Regions from separate parts of the Homo sapiens genome. Here region 1 is linked to region 2. Evidence: promoter capture Hi-C in 16 types of primary human blood cells and fetal thymus (Javierre and others, 2016). All regions are on one chromosome and are shown on one strand. The core of a region is centred on a gene start or on the middle of the fragment in contact, and the rest is flanking DNA. Distances in the headings are between cores, read along the strand shown.

Region 1 (7,422 bases), core at 2,120-4,619, 140 kb before region 2:
ATAATCATTGCTGGATACAATATGTATAGACAGTCTTATCTGTGGGATGTATTTCTTAAGCTATAAAACATATTACCCCTATTTTAATTGCTTCCTTATGTAATTACTAACTTTTGCATAATGCTTTACAGCTTACACATTTCTTTCAAAGGTCGATCTCATTAACTTCTGAAGTTTTCGGAAATGGGGAGAAATGTGTTTAGGGAAGGATTTTTATTTTCATGTTTGTATTGAGAAAACTGAGGTGCCAGACACTAAGTGATTTGCCCAAGGTTTACTAATTATTGGTGACTTGGAACTCAAACTTACCTCGGCTCTGTCCTGATCATGAGTTTCCTCTTTTGCCTCACATGTGCAGCCTTGTAAATCTGCACACTCACAGCTCTTAGCAATGTATGATTAAAATAGGTTTAAGCTTGATATCTTAGTATATGCATAGCATAGGAAAAATGCTGTATTTTGTTTCGTTGTCTAGGAAATTGAAGCTCTAAAAGTTAAATAAGTCACCCAAGGAAACCCAGCTAGTAAGAGGCAAAACTGGGCCTAAAACCCAGGACTTCTGACCACCAGTGTGTTTTGTCTCCACTAAACTAAATTGTTTTGTTTTAGCGTATCTTTGTGTAGCACTTTATTATTATTTAATAACATTTAATTTATATAATTTTTGAAGATAGAGGAAAGATCTATTGCTAATTTTGGATGCATTTAAAAAAATTATAAAGGCAATATATAGGCATTGTAGTGAATTAGAAATGCAAATAAGCAAAAATTTAAAACAACCATTTTCCACCACTTGGAACCAAACGGTGGTAGTGAATATCCTTCTAGACTTTTCCTATGCATATATGTATTTACATGTATATAAATATATATGTATTTTTACAAAAACATTTGTAATCTGCTTTTTAAACATAGCATTCACAAATGTATTGTCTCATTTGATTCCTATAACTGGCACTAACTGTATTCTTTTTTCTTAGAAGTAAGAGTCTTTAAAATCATTAGGACGTGGTGTGAAGACAAAGTCTGAATTGCATTGTAAGCTTTTATATCAAATTATTGGTAATGAGGCATTTAACTTTACAATAACTAGTATGAGAGGTAGCTAAGATTTTTAAAATTCACGTTAAGCATTCCCAATCTGAAAACTCAAAGTCCAAAATCTGAAACTTGTTGAGGGCCAACATGAACCACAAGTGGAAAATTCCACACCTCCTCTCATGTGACTAGTCTCAGTGAAAATACAGTCAAAACTGTTTCATGCACAAAATTATTAAAAATATGGTATAAAATTACCTTCAGCCTATGTGTATAAGATGTATATGAAGCATATATAAATTTCATGTTTAGACTTGGATCTCATCCTCAAGATATCTCATTATGTATATACAAACATTCTAAAACCGGAAAAAAATTCGAAATTCAAGACATTTCTAGTCCCAAGCATTGTGCATAAGGAGTTATTCCCATTTATTACAATGGAAATAGAAATGTATTATTTTCATTTATCACAAAGAAGAATTTTTTTCTAAATAACAACAGTAGATTTAAAAAGTTTTACATATCCTTTTTTACCCAATGTCTGCCTCTTAAAATGAAAGGAAACACCCAACTTGAATAACTATAACTGTAGATCGTGTGCTTTACAAAGCAGTGTGGAATGAACACTGTTCACTGAGTGCACAGCAGGTGGGAACACCATTGTGTAGGAGAACGCTAGACAGCACTGATTTAACGTTTCACTCTCATAGTCTTCTAATAACATGAAAGAGGCAAATATAAACCACGTATTTCTTTTACTTTCCTGTTTTTCCTCTTTTTTAAAGACAGAGTCTCATTCTGTTGCTTAGGTTTGAATGCAGTGGTACGATCATGGCTCACTGTAACCTTGAACTCCCAAGCTCAAGCAAGCATCTCACCTCAGCCTCATGAGTAGCTGGGACTACAGGTGTATGCTACCATGCTGGGCTACTTTTTAAAATTTTGGCTACAGATGGGATCTCTCTGTGTTGCCCAGGCTGGTCTCCAACTCCTGGCCTCAAGCAATTCTCCTCTCTTGGTCCTCTAAAGCTCTAAGACTACAGGTGTGAGCCACTGTGCCTGGCCAAACCATATATTTTATATTAGTTACTACAATTATTACCTTTAGTTTCACTAAGCCATAAGAGCCTTAGGATAACTGCCAATGAGAACACAGCACACAGATTAAAAAAGCACATAGTGGTGAAAGTAAATATATGGTTGTAAATAGTCTGCATCACAAACAAGAGTTCATGGAAGAAATATTTTTCTCAGGCAATTGCTTTAAGTTTGTAATTAAATACCTGTGATGAGGAAAAATAAAGCACAGTCTGCTGGAAACTTTAAGGGCTGCCTTGGTTTCAACAATCAGAAAATGCAGGAACCATACTGATTTATACTGAGTCCTACATTTACTCAAATTCATTAAAAAATGGATCACTAAGACTGGGGGCTTGGGATTGTGTTTACGAATATGTGGGCACAATATTTCCTGGGCTATAATCACTTGAGAGGCTGGGGTTCTCACTAACAGAGCAATTAGAGCCTTGCTTTACACTGGCTCTGAGAAACATGCTTTGTCTCCCAGGTGTGTTAATTTTCCTGTTATTGGTAGAGTGATCTTGCAGCTAGGGAAACTTACAGTCTAATGCCAGCTTTGGAATATTTTACTATCAACAGTCCCATTACTATTGTCACAATCGTCATGATTATGATCATTATGTCCATCATCACCACAACCACCTCACTCATTGCCATCAACACCATCATCAGTTACTACCACTATGGTTGTTACTTATTATTCATGATTATGCACAATTGACTAGCTTTAAAATGTTTATTATAATGTGTTTTAAAAACAAATTCAATTTTTTAAAAAACAAGCTGTATACTTTTAGTAAAGGAATGTTACGTTCCTTACATTTATAAGGGAATGCTGAATTTGGCACCCTGCTGCTGCACCAAGTAAACTGACAGTATAGAATGACAGGAGGTTCAGGAGCATGTGAAGGTGGACTAAAAGAACTCTTCATTCATACAGGCTCATTCATAAGAGAAGTGTGTTCATAAGGAAATTTCCTATTCAAGAACATATTCAGTATTTTGTTATCCATGAATATATTGCAATGAAGATTTTTAAATTAAACTTTTTATTTTGAGATAATTGTAGTTTCATATGTTATTGCAGGAAATAATGAAGAAAGATTCTTTGCTGTCTATTTTATGCCATTTTCCTTCAGTGGTAACATCTTGCAAAATGATTGTACAATATCATACCCAGGATTATTGACATTGATACAATTCACGGATTTTATTCAGACTTCCCCAGTTTTACTTACACTCATCTGTGCATGTATTTAGTTCTACGAAATTTTATCAAACACATAGTCTTGTGTATCTGATACCACAGATAATGTAAAAACACATCACCTGCGTTTTCTAAGTTTCAAAACAATAACTTGATATCCTGTTATACTCCAAAGGTGACCAGTTATTTTTCTTTATTATAAACTCACCACTGTAAACACATTTTATGTGTAAAATAAGTGTAACGGATAACGAAGTTAACTTATTGCAGTTATTTTTGTTGATCACATTTTTCTATCTTTGGCCTGTAGAATTCTCTTCAGTTTGTCTCCGGTGTCTTTGACATGGTGTTAGTAGTTTCTAGTATTATGCCTTCCTTGCTATCTTATATGACAAGATGTTATGAACTCATTTCTGCTGGGAGCAAGTCCCTCAAAGTCTGGTCATAAACTGCCCCCAAAACTGGCCATGAATAAAATCTCTGCAGCAATGTAACATGTCCACAATGGCCATAACGCCCAAGCTGGAAGGTTGTGGGTTTGCGGGAATGAGGGCAAGGAACACCTGGCCCGCCCGGGGCGGAAAACCGCTTAAAGGCATTCTTAAGCCACAAACAAAAGTCTGAGCGATCTGTGTCTTAAGGACGTGTTCCTGCTGCAATTAATTCGGCCCATCCCTTCGTTTCCCTTAAGGGATACTTTTAATTAATTTAATATCTATAGAAACAATGCTAATGACTGGTTTGTTGTTAATAAATACGTGGGTAAATCTCTGTTCGGGGCTCTCAGCTCTGAAGGCTGTGAGACCCCTGATTTCCCACTTCACACCTCTATATTTCTGTGTGCATGTCTTTAATTCCTGTAGCGCTGCTGGGTTAGGGTCTCTCGGACCGAGCTGGTCTCGGCACATTTCATACATTTAATTCCTCAGACCTGGAAATCAACCATTTCTCCTAGAAATTTGATTTCTTTTAGCAGGGAAATGATATTTCAAGAACACAAATTAGGTGCTAGAGAGGCTCATTGCTCTTGGCTTAGCCATTGCTTTTAGGTCTTTTCAAGCAGAACTAGGAACTGTAGGACTACATAGTTATCAAAGTGTGTTTTTTTTTTTTTTGAAGTCCAATAATCTTACTAGGATATATTTTAATGTTCATTCTGAGACAATTTTCTTAGGTGTGATGTTTCTTTTAACATGTTACTTTAAATCTATTGTTTTAATGCCAGAAAGTTTCTTGAATTACAGTTTTTATTACTTGTTCTATTGGTTTAGATTTCTCTGTTGAGGCTCCTACTCTATGCCAGTTGCCAGCTAGATCTTTACCTAGTGTCTACATTTGTTACTTTCCCCCAAATCCTCTTCATTTCATTTTTTCTCCCTTGTTTTCACCTTTGATTTCTCCTAAGGCACTATCTGTTGTGTTTATTTTATTTTGGTTACTCCTAGTTCAGTCTCAATTTCTGAAACTTTTTTATTTCTAACAATTTCCTGAGTCTTATTGCTTAATTTATAATTTTTTACTAATGCTGAGTTTTATTATTTGTTTGTCAGCATGTCTTTGTAGCTTGCTCTATATTTTCTGTAGAAAATCATTCTTCTTTCTTATAATAATAATAATAATAACTTTATATGGGATTTACCTTGATTCTTTTCTATTCATTTTAATATCAAATTAGTTTTTTCCTAATTTCACACATGTGGAACCTCTTCTTTGTTTTTTCTGTGAAGTGCTGAAAATATGATGCCTTACCACCTGAGATCTCTTGGTTCTGCCCCTTTTCTGCTTTTATCTGGATTGTTTCTTTCTTTTGTCTCTAATGTTTCTATTCTGCTTAGTTTGGGTTTTATTCCTTCCAGTTTATTCTTGTAGGGAGTTTTGGTTGGTTCGTTTTGAGAGTTCATGGTATCCAAACTTCTGCACCACTTCAGATCATACACCATTAAGGAAATGAAAAGGTGAGACACAGATTGGGAAAAAATATTCAATGCATATATCAAAAGATTTATTTTAGGAGATAAAACAAGTCTCTTACAAATCATCTAAAGACAAACAACCCAATTAAAATTGACTCCAAAATTTAGATAGTTACCTCATAAAAGAAGATACGCAAATGGTCAAGAAATACATGAAAAGATGCTCAGTATCATTAAACATCAGGTAAATGCAAATTAAAAACACACTGGCATAACACTATATACCCACTAGAAATGTTAAAAATTTAAAAATCTGACAATATCAAGTTTTGTTGAGGATGTAGAGCAACTGGACCTTTCCTACATTGCTGTTGGGAATGTACAATTGAATAACTTCTCTATAAAGTGGTGCTATGATTTGAGTGTCCCGGACAAAACTCATGATGGAAGCTTAATTCCCAGTGCACCAATGTAGAGAAGTGAAACTCTTAAGAGGTGGGGCTTGCTGGGAAGCATTTGGGTCATGAGGTCTCACCTTTATGGGCAGCTTGGTGCTGTTCTTATGGTAGTGAGTTCTTGCTCACAAGAATGAGCCCTCACCAGAAACCAAGCAGACTGCAGCACCATGCTCTTGGACTTTCAGACTCTGGAATCATGAGCCAAATAAACCTCTTTCCTCTATAAATTACCCAGCTTCAGGTATTCTGTTACAGCAACACAAAACAGACTGAAACAAATGGTTTGGCAGTTTTTATAAAGTTAAACTTGCCTATGACCCAACAATTCTAACATTAGGTATTTATCCAAGAGAAATGAAAATACACACTTACAAAATGTTTTGTACATGAATGCTTATATATGCTTTATTCATAAAAGCCTGAACCGGAAACAGTTTAACTGTCTATGAACAAGTAAATGGATAAACAAGTTTGTGAAAATAATCATACATCAGATTACTACTCATCAATACAAAGGAATGTACTACTGCTATACTCAACAATATGGATGAATCTCAAAACGATTAGACTGGGCAAAAGATGCCAGACACAAAGGAGTACATACTGTAGGATTTCACCTGTATAAAATTTTACATCAGGCAAAATAAATCAATAATGATAAATAGCAAGTCAGTGGTTGCCTGGGGCTCAGGGACAGTGGAGGGATTGAATGCAGAGGTGCGTTAGGGAGCTTTGTGTGGTAATGGACATGTTCACATACAATAGGCGCATTTTGCATGGTATTTAATAATTTACTGTACTTAAATCTATAAAGTAGATTTAAAATGAAAAAAATAGATATGGTCAACAAAACATGTCCAATATTCAGCACCACTAGTAATCAAAGAAATATGATCAAAATATGTCATTTTCAGAATCAAATTGGATTGAGAAGTTTTTTGAATGATAATATCCACTGTAAGTTAAGGTGTGGGGAAAAAGGTACTCTCATATATTACCTATGGGGTGTGTATAGGTAAACTGTTTACTCCAGCTGAACCCATGGCTGGAGTCACCAATGCTCACCATCACTGGCCATCAAAGAAATGCAAATCAAAAGCACAATGAGATACCATCTCACACCAGTTAGAATGGCAATCATTAAAAAGTCAGGAAACAACAGGTGCTGGAGAGGACGTGGAGAAATAGGAACACTTTTACACAGTTGGTGGACTGTAAACTAGTTCAACCATTGTGGAAGTCAGTGTGGCCATTCCTCAGGGATCTAGAACTAGAAATACCATTTGACCCAGCCATCCCATTACTGGGTATATACCCAAAGGACTATAAATCATGCTGCTATAAAGACACACGCACACGTATGTTTATTGCGGCACTATTCAGAATAGCAAAGACTTGCAACCAACCCAAATGTCCAACAATGATAGACTGGATTAAGAAAATGTGGCACATATACACCATGGAATGCTATACAGCCATACAAAATGATGAGTTCATGTCCTTTGTAGGGACATGGATGAAATTGGAAATCATCATTCTCAGTAAACTATCACAAGAACAAAAAACCAAACACTGCATATTCTCACTCATAGGTGGGAATTGAACAATGAGAACACATGGACACAGGAAGGGGAACATCACACTCTGGGGACTGTTGTGGGGTGGGGGTAGGGGGGAGGGATAGCATTAGGAGATATACCTAATGCTAAATGACGAGTTGGTG
Region 2 (7,083 bases), core at 1,318-3,817:
AAACAACATATTACATCAGAAAACATCCAGCATAAGGCCAGGCACTCTGTAGTTGCTCCATATGCATTAATTCTCTTTTCTCTTGATTTCTTCCCTTTATATTAAAAAATGGTTTTTTATTTTAAGAGACATAAGATGGAAAAGAAACATAAACGGTGTTATTTTTCTTGCACGTTCTACTATATTGAGTTGTCAGGGCAGTAAATATCCATTTTACAAATGGGGGAATTATAGCTCAAAGCTGTTGAGTAATTTTTGTCTTAAACTAATTTGGTAGGATGATTTATTTTTTGTTCTCCACTTACGTTTTAAATAAACTTTTTATTTAAGTGTAACATAAGGATAGAGCTCGATGAATTTTTGCTAACTGCATACATCTGTGTCACCAGCACCCCTGTCAGAACCAGACATTGCCAGCAACCCTAAAGCACCCTTCACATCCTTCTCCAGTCACTAGCCCCTGCCTGCCCAGCCAAGAGGAACTGCTGTGTGACTTCTAGCACCATAGATTAGCTTCCTTGTTTCTAAACTGTATGTAAATGAAATCATAAAATATACCCTCTTCTGTGCTTGGCTCCTTTCACTCTCTGTTGGTTTGTGACATTTATCTATGTCATTATCTTTCATGGCTATATGGAATTCTATTTTATTAACATCCTACCATTTATTATCCGGTCTACAGTTGGCTGACAGATGGGGTGATTTCAGTTTGTGGCTGTTAAGGACAACGCTGCAGTGCACAATCTTGGCATGTCTTTAGGTAAATATGCCTACTTACTTTTAGTTAGTATACACAATTTGTTGTCCAAGTCCAGACACTTCTGAGAGTGAAAGGGTATGCTATTAATAATTATACAGAGATAATGAGTGTAAGTCAGGACTGTCCCAGGCGAACTGGGATTATTTTAGGTAGCCTTAGTGAAACTTACAAATGCAGATGCTCCCATGTCTTTGAATTTTTCTTAAAATATTCATCTAGCAGATCATATGGAGAGCAGCTTTGTCATCTGAATAATGGCAGGATTAGACCCTTACATCCATCTCCCATTATACCTTAAGCCTGCATGCCTAGAGAGTAACTCTGTGTAGGGGTGTGTGTGTGTGTGTGTGTGTGTGTGTGTGTGTGTGTGTGTGCTTTCTAGCATATGTGTTGTGATATTTTAATCTCTTCATATATAGTAAAGGCCTGTCTGCGGCCCTTATTAGAGCTGCGAGTAGGTGGTGTTTGTGGTGGAGGTGGTGTGGTTTCTGTTCTGAGCAGCGCATGGTCCAAGAAGCCTTTTATCTGAGGTGCTCTCTGTAGATCTGATCTGACCTTTTCTGAGGGGTCCTACTCTCATAGCTCCCTGTGAAGATTTGGAGATGGTGGCTTAGGTTGGGGCTATTCACTCTTAAATTCAAGCTTAGGCTCTGAGAGTTAATGAGAAAGGAAAAAATGAGTCCCCAAACTCAGCACTGAATAACATGAAATCCCTGGAGTAGAGGGAAAGTTTGAGTGGAACCCCCACTCCCAAGATGCTAGGTAAGCACCGTTATCCAGGCTGTAAACAAAGACAGTGCAATTCCTTCCCTATAGAGACAGATCTTGGAGAAATTCCCAGGGGAAACTGTGTCTAATCAGGTCCCTGAGATCGTCAAGCAGCTTAAATTCCTCTGTGATATGACAGCTGGGGTTCTGGTCAAAATGAGAGTTCCTAGTTTTTTTTCCTGAAGTTGTCAAGACCACCTGGGAAAATCCACAAACAGAAACCATGGTCTATTCCTTGAGCACCTTGGAGCCTGGGGTCTGTAAAAGCTCTGATTCTCAGCACCAAGGGAGTCAAAAGAGGTAATACGCAAGGCTGTGTGCTTTCTGCACAAGCAGCACCATTTTCTCTTTCTGGCTAATGGAAAAAGAGATGGCGTAAGGCCCAGCACTGAGTGGGGCCCGGGAGAAGGAAGGTGAAGGTCCGAATCCTGTCTTTCCTGATGGTCTCTTTGAAACCCACAACCAAGGGCTCTGGGAAGTATGGATCCCGTCTCTGCTCTCAACACTGACCCTGAGGTGAGATGGAATGGAGGGTCTTCGAGGAGGCGGGTGGGATGTAAAGAGCCAGCAGGTAACACTCTTGGCTTTCTCTCCAGATGGAAATCCACTATCTAGTTGGGAGACGGAGGCAGAGAATGGGAGGGCATCCTGGTGACCTTGAGAGCTCTGGTCTCTCAGCTCTTGAGGCAGCGGCCCAGGTTGTACTCTTGGTTCTCAGGGTGTCTTTCTGAGAGTCCCTGGGCAGCCAATTCAGGTGTGTTGTCTCCCTCGTCATCTCTCAAGCAGAGACGGAATTCTTGCTGCCCATGGTAACAGATGCTAGCTTGAATTCATGATCGGCCCAGCAGAGCTGAGATCCTCTCACAGACACGTTGTTAATACCTCAGGGTGGGGAGGTGTGTAGATGAGGGAGGATGGAAGAGAGGGCATCTGCACACTGGCTGGTCCACTAGAGTCTTCTTCCCTTAGCCATGCTTGTGCCTGTCATGACTCTTTGTGTTTTGCCCTCTGCTTCCCCAGACAGCTCGCCAAGAGAGAATGACTCTGAGAAACAGCTCCTCAGTGACTGAGTTTATCCTTGTGGGATTATCAGAACAGCCAGAGCTCCAGCTCCCTCTTTTCCTTCTATTCTTAGGGATCTATGTGTTCACTGTGGTGGGCAACTTGGGCTTGATCACCTTAATTGGGATAAATCCTAGCCTTCACACCCCCATGTACTTTTTCCTCTTCAACTTGTCCTTTATAGATCTCTGTTATTCCTGTGTGTTTACCCCCAAAATGCTGAATGACTTTGTTTCAGAAAGTATCATCTCTTATGTGGGATGTATGACTCAGCTATTTTTCTTCTGTTTCTTTGTCAATTCTGAGTGCTATGTGTTGGTATCAATGGCCTATGATCGCTATGTGGCCATCTGCAACCCCCTGCTCTACATGGTCACCATGTCCCCAAGGGTCTGCTTTCTGCTGATGTTTGGTTCCTATGTGGTAGGGTTTGCTGGGGCCATGGCCCACACTGGAAGCATGCTGCGACTGACCTTCTGTGATTCCAACGTCATTGACCATTATCTGTGTGACGTTCTCCCCCTCTTGCAGCTCTCCTGCACCAGCACCCATGTCAGTGAGCTGGTATTTTTCATTGTTGTTGGAGTAATCACCATGCTATCCAGCATAAGCATCGTCATCTCTTACGCTTTGATACTCTCCAACATCCTCTGTATTCCTTCTGCAGAGGGCAGATCCAAAGCCTTTAGCACATGGGGCTCCCACATAATTGCTGTTGCTCTGTTTTTTGGGTCAGGGACATTCACCTACTTAACAACATCTTTTCCTGGCTCTATGAACCATGGCAGATTTGCCTCAGTCTTTTACACCAATGTGGTTCCCATGCTTAACCCTTCGATCTACAGTTTGAGGAATAAGGATGATAAACTTGCCCTGGGCAAAACCCTGAAGAGAGTGCTCTTCTAATGGGTCTCTTCATATCACTGGCAACCGATTCTCGGTAAGCATGATACTCAAGTGTCTTTCTATTTATAGGCGGAGGAATTTTAATATTTTTCCTCAAAGAGGGTCTCCTCTCCACTTTTAAAAATTGGAAATCTCTTTCCTATACTCTCCTTGAGGACTATATTATTTTGCAACAATTAAATTGGCTCACTGCCTGCAAGTTAGTGTCTATGAAATGCCTTTTGTTTACTGAACTCTGTATTAGGCCCAAGAGATGAGTAAGATGAGGCTCCATGCCTTCCATTCTTTTCTTGGTAGGCTAAATGGGTTTTTCTGAGCAAGAACGTTTCTGGCTGGAACAAGGGGCAGGTGGTGGTATAAAGGTTGAGGAGTGTTTTCTCTTTAGTTACATAAGCAGACTTATTAAAGATCAATGGTAGATACCTTGGTGCCAGTGCTAATATGATTATATATCCAGCTCTTCAGGAGGTTGCTTGGTCAGGAAGATCATAAACCCTCCTTTTCATATACATGTATGTACATAAAAGAAGCCCTCACACAAGAATTTTCTATGATCTGCTCTGTAAGGATAAATCAAATCCAAATCTTTTATTTCAAAGTTCTAAAGCTTCTGGGCCTTGGAATGGTAATCAGGGGTAAGTGATCCTGTGTAATTGGGCCAATTTCTTAGGCTCCGGAGACTCAGGCTGGAAGAAGAAACAAGGAAGAACTCCACGGATTTGCATGATCTGTAAAATGTGGCCTCTGCCTTGCTCTGGAGATACTAAGCACACTACTGGATTTTAGGAAGATTGCTTATTCTTTAAAGTGGATTTAGATTTTACAGTTCTGACAACGTGTGTGCATGTTTATATGTGTGTGTGTGTGTGTGTGTGTGTGTCTGTATGTGTATTACAGTTAATCAATATAGAATCGGAAAGAAAGAGGAGTCATATTACACGTCCCACTCTCAGGGAGTCTGGAAGGGATCTGGATTTTGAGTGCCAAAGACCACTCTGTATTACTCTGCTAAAGGTTCTGCTGTTCTACATTGAAGAGTTCAGTGCTCCAGCTCGTGGCCAGGAGACATTCTGAGGGAGAGCTGAGAGCAGGGCAGAGAAGCAACTGCAGCACAGGTCTGACCAACAGGAGACGTGAGACAAACTCTATCTATCTTCTCCAAATCTGCTAGAGGAAGATCTTTGGAGGAGAAAAACTCTGATACTTGGATTATGCTTTGATTATGATAATAATGACACTTAACAGTTACTGAACTTGCACCATGTGTTTGTGCACCATTTGAGGTACCTTAAATATATTAATTCATTCATTGGAATTGATTTAATACCTTACTCAACCACTGCTGGTCAGTCCTCTGGGCCTTGCTGAATCCCACCCTCCAGTGGACTGTCTGTGTCTAGGTCCATGGGGGTCTTGGGATATTAGAAAAGAATCAAGAATAAGGAAGGACAAAAGTAAATCTACTTTGATACGGATAAAGAAAAAAAAACAATTACCATTGGTATAAATGAGCGGGAACAAGAACTAAGTCAGGGCATAGGATATGAATGGAAAGGAACAATTATGTAATCAATGCATCAAAGTCCAAGAATAACTTTCCCTGCATTCACTCCATATTGGCACTGGGGTGAGTAGCCGTGAAAGTATGTTTGACTTAATGAGACACTGGCTTGGCTCTTTTGGAAAGAAGTTCCTTTTTGACTGAGGATCTTACATGACAAAAACTCAGAGAGACTTTTCTTGGCTCTTGTAAAGCCAAATAAGAGCATCTACTGCTTCCACAGAAAATGCAACATTAAATAAATTCAGAAGGCCTGCACTTCTGTCTCAAACCAAGGATGGGTCATCTTGCATATTGTTTTGGGTTGACGTTAAGGAATTGTTTGTTCTCACAGTGTTAAACAAATAGAAGGAGGGTTGAGGGCTGTGGCATTACAGTAACAGAGAAGTAAGTTGAAACTGAGTGTCAGATCTGTCCTAAATGAGTCCTTCTGTCACAAGACCACGACTCCATCATCTCCTCACGTCATGACGTTTTAATTTCTAGCAAGGCTACTTTTTTCTCTTTAGGAAGCATCCTTAAGGTTGAGATTCCTCTAGGTTCAGTTCTTGGTCTCCTTCTCTTCTGGGCTCTTCCTGAGGCATTTCTCTGACTCAGGTGACTTCAACAACCACGCATTTGATGGTGACTTTCAAATCTATAACTCTGACCCTGAGCTACAATCAGAATCTGTAATCAGTTGTAAACTGGAAACACGCAAGTCTTATTAACATTGATGTTCAAATAGAATTGTTTAACGATTAAGTGATGACATAGTTTTGGAGTATCAGGAGGAGTAAACTGTTGTCTCTCACATTTCTAACCATGTGGGAGAATATAGGTAAGTGACCCTCCAAGTAGGAAGAGCGAGAGTACAAGGAGAACTTCCAGTGGATCTTTGGAAGGAAAAGGACGTGGTTTCCCTGTGCTCAAGAGGCAGATGAGAGGATGTCCGTGGCAGACTCAGCGTTAACTCTTAGCTTAGATGCGTAGTGCCCTTTCTCCCCTCACACTTCCACAGCAGAAATGTATCATTTACAAACCACTTCAGCTGCTGGTAACCAAAGTCTGACTGCAGTGGCTGAAACATATAAGTGTTTATTGTCCTCCAACATAAACGGCATCCAGAGGTGGGCAGTCCAGGACTGATTTGACAGTGCTGAGTCATCAAGCACTCAGTCTCTCTCTCCATCTTTTTTCTCTTCTTTCTAGCTAGAGATTTCATTCTCAATAATGCATCATGATTTCCAGATGGCCACTAGAGCTCTTAAGATTTTGTCCATATTTCAAGCAGCAGGAAGACACAGGGGTAAGCATAAGCAAATGGGTACTTTACCTATTTAACGTATGACTGCTACTGACAAGTTATTAACTATCCCTACCTGCAAAGGAGGCTGAGAAACTTAGCATTTCACTTGATAGCATTATCATCCTTAAACAACAGAATTTTGTTGCTAAGGAAGAAGGTGCTAACATGGCTATTGTGCAGACAACTAGCAGTATCCACCAAAGGATAGAATACCACTTGCCAGGAGGGAACAATTTAGAAGTGAATACACTCTATCCATATTTTTGCTTTCTTACTTTGTCCACTCTGTGAGAGAAGGTTAGATTAATTGGACAGGTAAGATTGAAAAAGACTGACAAGTTGGTCATTGATGGAAATGTGCCCAGTGTCTTCATCACCAAACTATTGGTACTAACGTAAGGCAAGCTCATGGTGAGGACAAGCCAGAATCTGTGCTATTTCAATCCTAACCTCTACTGCTGTCTCCTACTGGGTTAAGTTAGAGTCCGGGTTCTGAGAGGGAGGTGCGAGTCCTGACATCTTTGCCTCTTCAGCATGGCTATGAATAAAGATGCAATGGTATTTTCATCCTCTTTTGGCTCCAGTCATTCTCACTAATTAGACCCACAGGAAAGGGGGAGTGAGTGATTAATATTGCCAAATTTCCCACATTAGAGCTGTCTCTGCACTTTTAGCACAAGGACTTCTGGTAATTGAAGCTCTCATTTTCTTATGATTTGAAATGACCCCTCTTGCTCT

The links. Contacts are between HindIII fragments. The CHiCAGO score rates a contact against its expected background, and 5 or more counts as called.
Region 1: a fragment that was not itself captured here is called in contact with the fragment with the promoter of OR8B4 in region 2 in 3 of 17 cell types (M1 macrophages, M2 macrophages and endothelial precursors); the score reaches 6.7 in M1 macrophages.

What each region holds. Positions count from the first base shown.
Region 1 is chr11:124,561,607-124,569,028 of GRCh38, reverse strand. No RefSeq gene overlaps it. Among named protein-coding and RNA genes, the nearest start is that of OR8A1, 4.7 kb to the left of the region's middle. The HindIII fragment of the contact is 4,648 bases long and covers 1,046-5,693 here.
Region 2 is chr11:124,420,355-124,427,437 of GRCh38, reverse strand. It overlaps OR8B4 (olfactory receptor family 8 subfamily B member 4), which reads left to right and starts at 2,567. Exons shown (of 1, transcript NM_001005196.1): 1 at 2,567-3,496. The coding sequence starts at 2,567. The coding sequence ends at 3,496. The HindIII fragment of the contact is 2,701 bases long and covers 1,405-4,105 here.